Regions from separate parts of the Homo sapiens genome. Here region 1 is linked to region 2. The links are contacts of gene promoters, found by promoter capture Hi-C in blood cells and fetal thymus (Javierre and others, 2016). All regions are on one chromosome and are shown on one strand. The core of a region is centred on a gene start or on the middle of the fragment in contact, and the rest is flanking DNA. Distances in the headings are between cores, read along the strand shown.

Region 1 (2,947 bases), core at 23-2,522, 760 kb before region 2:
GACCCCAGGGGGTTTCCTCTGTGATTTTAATTCTCATTTTTATACTTATCTTCATTTTGCAAATTCCCTACAATCAGCTTCTATAACCACAAAAGTAAAAGCAAATAACAAAGCCCTCTAGCGATGTGAGAACATTCACTTATTCCTTCCTTGACTCATCCATCTCTGCGTTCCTTCATTCACTCGTCAGCCCTACTACTTCTCACAGCACTATGCTGGCATTGTGGGGAAAGGGTATTAAAAAACACGGAGGAGGCCGGGTGCAGTGGTTCAGGCCTGTAATCCCAGCACTTTGAGAGGCCGAGGCGGGCGGATCACGAAGTCAGGAGATCGAGACCATCCTGGCTAACACGGTGAAACCCCGTCTCTACTAAAAAATACAAAAAATTAGCCGGGCGTGGTGGCAGGCACCTATAGTCCCAGCTACTCGGGAGGCTGAGGCAGGAGAATGGCGGGAACCCGGGAGGCGGAGCTTGCAGTGAGCCGAGATCGCACCACTGCACTCTCGCCTGGGCGACACAGCGAGACTCTGTCTCAACAACAACAACAACAACAAAAAACCAAGGAGCATTCCTACTTCCTGCTTCAGGAAATGTTCATTTCTGAGATGTCAAGAGGATAAACTTTCTGGAATCTCTTATTTTATGGTTCTCTCTCTTTTATCTCCTTAAAGCACGTAAAATCTTCTTTTGGTTCTAAGAAATATTATTCTATTTATAGTATTATTAATCTATATTATTATCATATTATATCACATTCATTTATGTAAAATCATTATTAATCTGTTAATAACATTATATTATTCTCTTCCAAATGCCCTTTGAAAAATAGCTTAGCTGATTTTTCAGATACTGTTAGCTTGAAATCATGAACTATATCCAGGTCTTAAGAGAAGTGCCCCTATTTCATTTCAGATTGGTCAAAGTATTAAATCATCATCTCTGTTTCCTTACATTTTTCTTTCATTCCTTAAAAGTGAAATAGCAATTCTTATTCTCAGGGTAGGCTCACACAGAACAATAAGAATTGGTAGTAGTAGTAGATGCTATTTCTTTCTCCCAAACATCAAAAATAATCCACCAGATTCCCTTGGCATTCCCTTTTATGTAGGCTAGATGTCCTAATTCTTATTTTTGCTTGAGTGGAAACAGGCTCAGCATGTTTAAGGATATTACCTGTTATAATCCAGTAAGTTAGAAATGGGGCAAGAACCAGAAACCGAAGCTCCAGAATCTGTTTTAGGAATTCGGTGGAATTTAAAAAGAATAAAACCATACCTAGGAGGGAATCACATCTGCCTGAGATAGTATATCTTTCTGACAAAAGTAAATTGTCTCCCCTGTGTTTTCTTTCATTAAAAAAAAAAAAAATCAGTTGCCATCAGAAAATAGCAGAGGGAACTCGGGCTGCAGTTAGAGACTGAAAACTACCTGTACAAATTATTTCCCTAAGGTTCCCATACTTATTCCATTCTCTCCTCGGATAACAAATAAACTTGCTCAGTTTTGAACATCAAGTCTGACTCTTCGTGCAGTGAGCTCTCCAGGCGTCCCCCGTTGCAGGGGGAATCAAGCTGGGGCTAATCAGTTTCTTACATGATTCCCAGCAGGAAGGTGGTAATATTCATGACTTCAGAGACCAAAATGAAACCAGCTCCTTTTCTGAGGGCAGAGCCCAGGATAAAATTAATAGTAGCAACTCCTTGGATCCAGTGTACTGTGGCATCCTGCGTGCAAACAGCTCAGGAAAGGTTATAGAGAAGGTGCCTGTTGTATGTCCTGTCACAGTTCTTCACTTACATTGAACACATACAAACTACGAATCTAAGCCTGGTAGTTCCTTACGACTTCACGACACTCTGAAAAGTTTTGTTCAGTATGTTTACAGAGCAGCTATTATGTCTCTGCATGAGATTTTGAGAAAGATCAGTGGAGGCAGGACATGAACAAAGGCTTTTCCAGATAAGGCAAGTCAATTAAAATGGACAGAGACTGCAAAAACAAATTCTGATTCCCATGCTAAAACCCTTCCAGCTTGACCATAAACACACAGGTGTGCACATAAACATATATACTCACATGCACACACATACACACACACACACACACACACACATCCTTGCACCAGCAGTCATGGAAATATGGCAGGAATCCCATTACTAGAAGGCTGAGAGCTGAGGCTGGGTAAGACCAGCTATTCTGCTCAACTCAACCTTGAGCTACTCAAACTTGACCCACCCTCCAAGGACTGATCCCAGAGTCTCTGCCAGGCTGACCTTCACCCATGGACCTAGTAGCCCAAGCTGCAAGAGTTCCAGACAGGCTGTAAAACATTAAAATGTTCCTGTTATCCAACAGCTTTAGGGCACCTGAAGGGCATAAGTTATTCAAATCAAAGGCTAATGTTCAATTTAAATGAAAACCTGAAGGCTTTGATTTTACACAAGAAAAACAAATACTTTTTATATTTTTATAATTTCTAAGCAAAAATAATGCCCAAACCAAAACAATACTTTCTACATAATTCCTAGATATGGATAAACACTGACATCTATGTGGTTGTCTAAAAATCTATTACAACAGAGTCTAAAGTGTACTTTACATTGTTTGGTGTTGGATTAGAAATGCCATTCTTAATGTAAATTGCTAGCCCATAGAAATCATTCAATAAATGTTAACTATTATTGGGATTACCAGTGTTAACTGTGATTGCTTGAATCCAAATATAAAGCGCTAGACAATTCATTCCCATCTTTATGTCCAGTCGTAGTTCTCTAAATGGTTTGGGCTAAACTTCTTACCCTGGGGAGGAATGACAGAGAAGGGAGGTCAAGGCCAGGCAGGGGAAGGCAGGCAACCCTGTCTAGGGTCCATGCAATGTCAATAGTCTGAGGCCAGTCTCCATGAATTGGAAACCAACGAATTGGGTGAATCCTAGAATTGCTATC
Region 2 (2,799 bases), core at 74-2,573:
TGAGTAGAAGCTATAAAGTCAGCAGGTTGCATTGATGGATATGGAAAGAGAGGGCTCTAGGCCACATCTACTAAAAGACATGAAGAAGGAGCAGGGTTTTTGTTTTTGTTTTGGCAGGGAGGTGTTTGGGGAGGTTGTTTTGTACAATCAAGTGGATGTTGAATATACATTGATATACAAATCTAAAGTTCAGAGAAAGACCGGGCTGAAGAGAGAAATTTGGGAGTTGTAAGTAAATAGTTTTTTGTTTTTAGTTTTACTAAGTATTGCCTTTGTTTTAGTATGACTCGTTTATTTAGAAGTTTATATAATTTAATTTGTGATATGTCTTGTGTTTTTGTTTTGTTTGGGGCAGGTGCCCGAGGCCCTTGTCATCTTCATTGACTCCAGCTCATGGCTTGTATTTAACAACGAGCTCAGAAAAATTCCTAAAAATTTAATTACTGAGTCTCCAGAGCTCTAATGAGCTGGCTCCAGCACACAATTGCTCCTTTCTTTCATTCAACAATTTGACAAGTCCTGATGGCTCTACATTCAAAACATGTAAATTGGCCGGGCGCGGTGGCTCACGCCTGTAATCCCAGCTCTTTGGGAGGCCGAGGCGGGTGGATGACGAGGTCAGGAGATCGAGATCATCCTGGCTAACACGGTGAAACCCCGTCTCTACTAAAAATACAAAAAATTAGCCAGGCGTGGTGGTGGGTGCCTGTAGTCCCAGCTACTCGGGAGGCTGAGGCAGGAGAATGGCGTGAACCCGGGAGGCGGAGCTTGCAGTGAGCCGAGATAGCACCACTGCACTCCAGCCTGGGCGACGGAGCGAGACTCCGTCTAAAAAAAAACAAAAACAAAAAAACAAAAAACCGTATATCTTGAATCTGATCACTTTTCGCTTAGATAGTACTGTAATATAGTAATAGATAATGCTAGAAAAAATAATTAAAGCTATAGATATCATCTATTGTAGGTTTACTGATTGTCAGGCACTATGGCGACTCTCTGGAATGGTTCATTCCTCGCAAATGAATAGATAGGAGATATCTACTATCAGGAACTACAAACACAGTCTCCGTGCTGTGATCCGCTTTCACAGGGAATTTTGTCTGGGATTCAAGTAGCGGCAAGTAACCCTTTTTCGCCCTCCATCTCTGCTCAGGGGTGAGCCCTGGCAGCGCTCCTACCTGGGACCTACATTGGCTTAGTAAGATGGGCCGGCGCCCACCCCAGCCCTCGCGCATGCGCATAAAAGCCCACTCCCGGGGGCGGGGCCTGAGCTAGCTGGGCGGGGCCTGAAGGAGCCGGGAGCTCCTGCAGCTTCATCGCGTTACTAAGAGACGCGAGGGTCGCGAAGGGCACAACACTTGGCCTCTCGCTGGCCCTGCTCGCGGATCCCGAGTAGAGAACGCAAGCACCCACGCCCGCCTGCAAGCTCCCGGGCGCCCCCGGCCTCTCCTGCTCGGCGGAACGAGGATAACCCAGTAGAGCCGGACCCAGGGGTGGGTGGATGCGTCGCTGGAGGCGAGGGCCCTGCCCGCCAACCCCTGCGCCCCGGCCGTAGCCCCACCCCGGAAGTTCTTGCCCCGCCTTCTCGGCTCCGCAGTTCTCTGCTGTCTCCTGAGGTTTGCCAGGGAGATCCCGTGGTTTTCATGTCTCTTCCGTGATTTTTAGGGAAGAGGGTCACTATTTGGCCCTTCCAGAATCTCAGGGTCCGGTTCTCCCGGAAGTTTCCGGGCCGCCCCGGACCCCATTGGCTTTAGGGGCCGCGTCTCCGAGGGCTCCGATTTGGGCCCTAGATTTTGGAATACTGTGTTTTGTCCGTCCCAGCCTTCACCAGGCGGATTTCATCTCCCACACAGTTAGTGATTTATGGCAGAAAGGAAGCTGGAGGGATGGGGACTGCAGGTTAGCTGTGAGGGCCGGAAGGGAGCGGTTTTGTGCTGCACACAGGCAGGTCAGCACTCCCAGAGCAGGGACCGCCGGGCGTGCTTTCGGAACCGCTTTTGTCTTTCAAATGAACGCCCAGCGACAGCAGACGGGAGTTCCAGGACCTTAGAGACCGGCTAATGCTTCTCTTTAAGTTAGGAAACAGGCGCAGGCGTGTTCATGGCCTTGCCTAAGGTTACGTGCTGGTTACAGGGCTCCTCCTGCTGCCTCTTAAGAACAGAAATAATCTAATAGGAGGAATAAAAGGGACTATTAGGGAGGCTAATGCTCTTGAAGTTTTAATACTACTAAAAGTAAAAGCGCTTTTCAGAGTGAAAGGGAAGTGAAAAGGGAATTTGGGTGGCTGGCTACATCAGAAGCTTCTGTTCCAACTTTAGATTGTCAGGGAGTTGAGATGGTGTTTTTTGTTTTTATTTTTGTTTTAGTTTTTTGAGACGGAGTCTCGCTCTGTAGCCCAGGCTGGAGTGCAGTGGCGGGATCTCGGCTCACTGCAAGCTCCGCCTCCCGGGTTCACGCCATTCTCCTGCCTCAGCCTCCCGAGTAGCTGGGACCACAGGTGCCCGCCACGATGCCCGGCTAATTTTTTGTATTTTTAGTAGAGACGGGGTTTCACTTTGTTGGCCAGGATGGTCTCGATCTCCTGACCTCGTGATCCACCCGCCTCGGTCTCCCAAAGTGCTGGGATTATAGGAGTGAGCCACCGCGCCGAGATGGTGTGTTTTTAAAATAACGTGCCCGAGGCCGGGCGTGGTGGCTCACCCCTGTAATCCCAGCACTTTGGGAGGCTGAGGCAGGCGGATCACCTGAGGTCGGGAATTCGAGACCAGCCTGACCAACATGGGAAAACCTCGTCTCTAC

What was found. Contacts are between HindIII fragments. The CHiCAGO score rates a contact against its expected background, and 5 or more counts as called.
Region 1: a fragment that was not itself captured here is called in contact with the fragment with the promoter of MEIG1 in region 2 in 5 of 17 cell types (total CD8 T cells, naive CD4 T cells, naive CD8 T cells and 2 more); the score reaches 7.4 in total CD8 T cells.

Annotation. Positions count from the first base shown.
Region 1 is chr10:14,194,075-14,197,021 of GRCh38, forward strand. The region is part of intron 2 of FRMD4A (FERM domain containing 4A); the gene reads right to left. Among named protein-coding and RNA genes, the nearest start is that of FRMD4A-AS3, 120 kb to the left of the region's middle. The HindIII fragment of the contact is 9,275 bases long and covers 1-2,947 here.
Region 2 is chr10:14,958,065-14,960,863 of GRCh38, forward strand. MEIG1 (meiosis/spermiogenesis associated 1) reads left to right here and starts at 1,324. Exons shown (of 3, transcript NM_001080836.3): 1 at 1,324-1,493. RefSeq lists a silencer at 1,547-1,596. The HindIII fragment of the contact is 3,683 bases long and covers 1-2,298 here.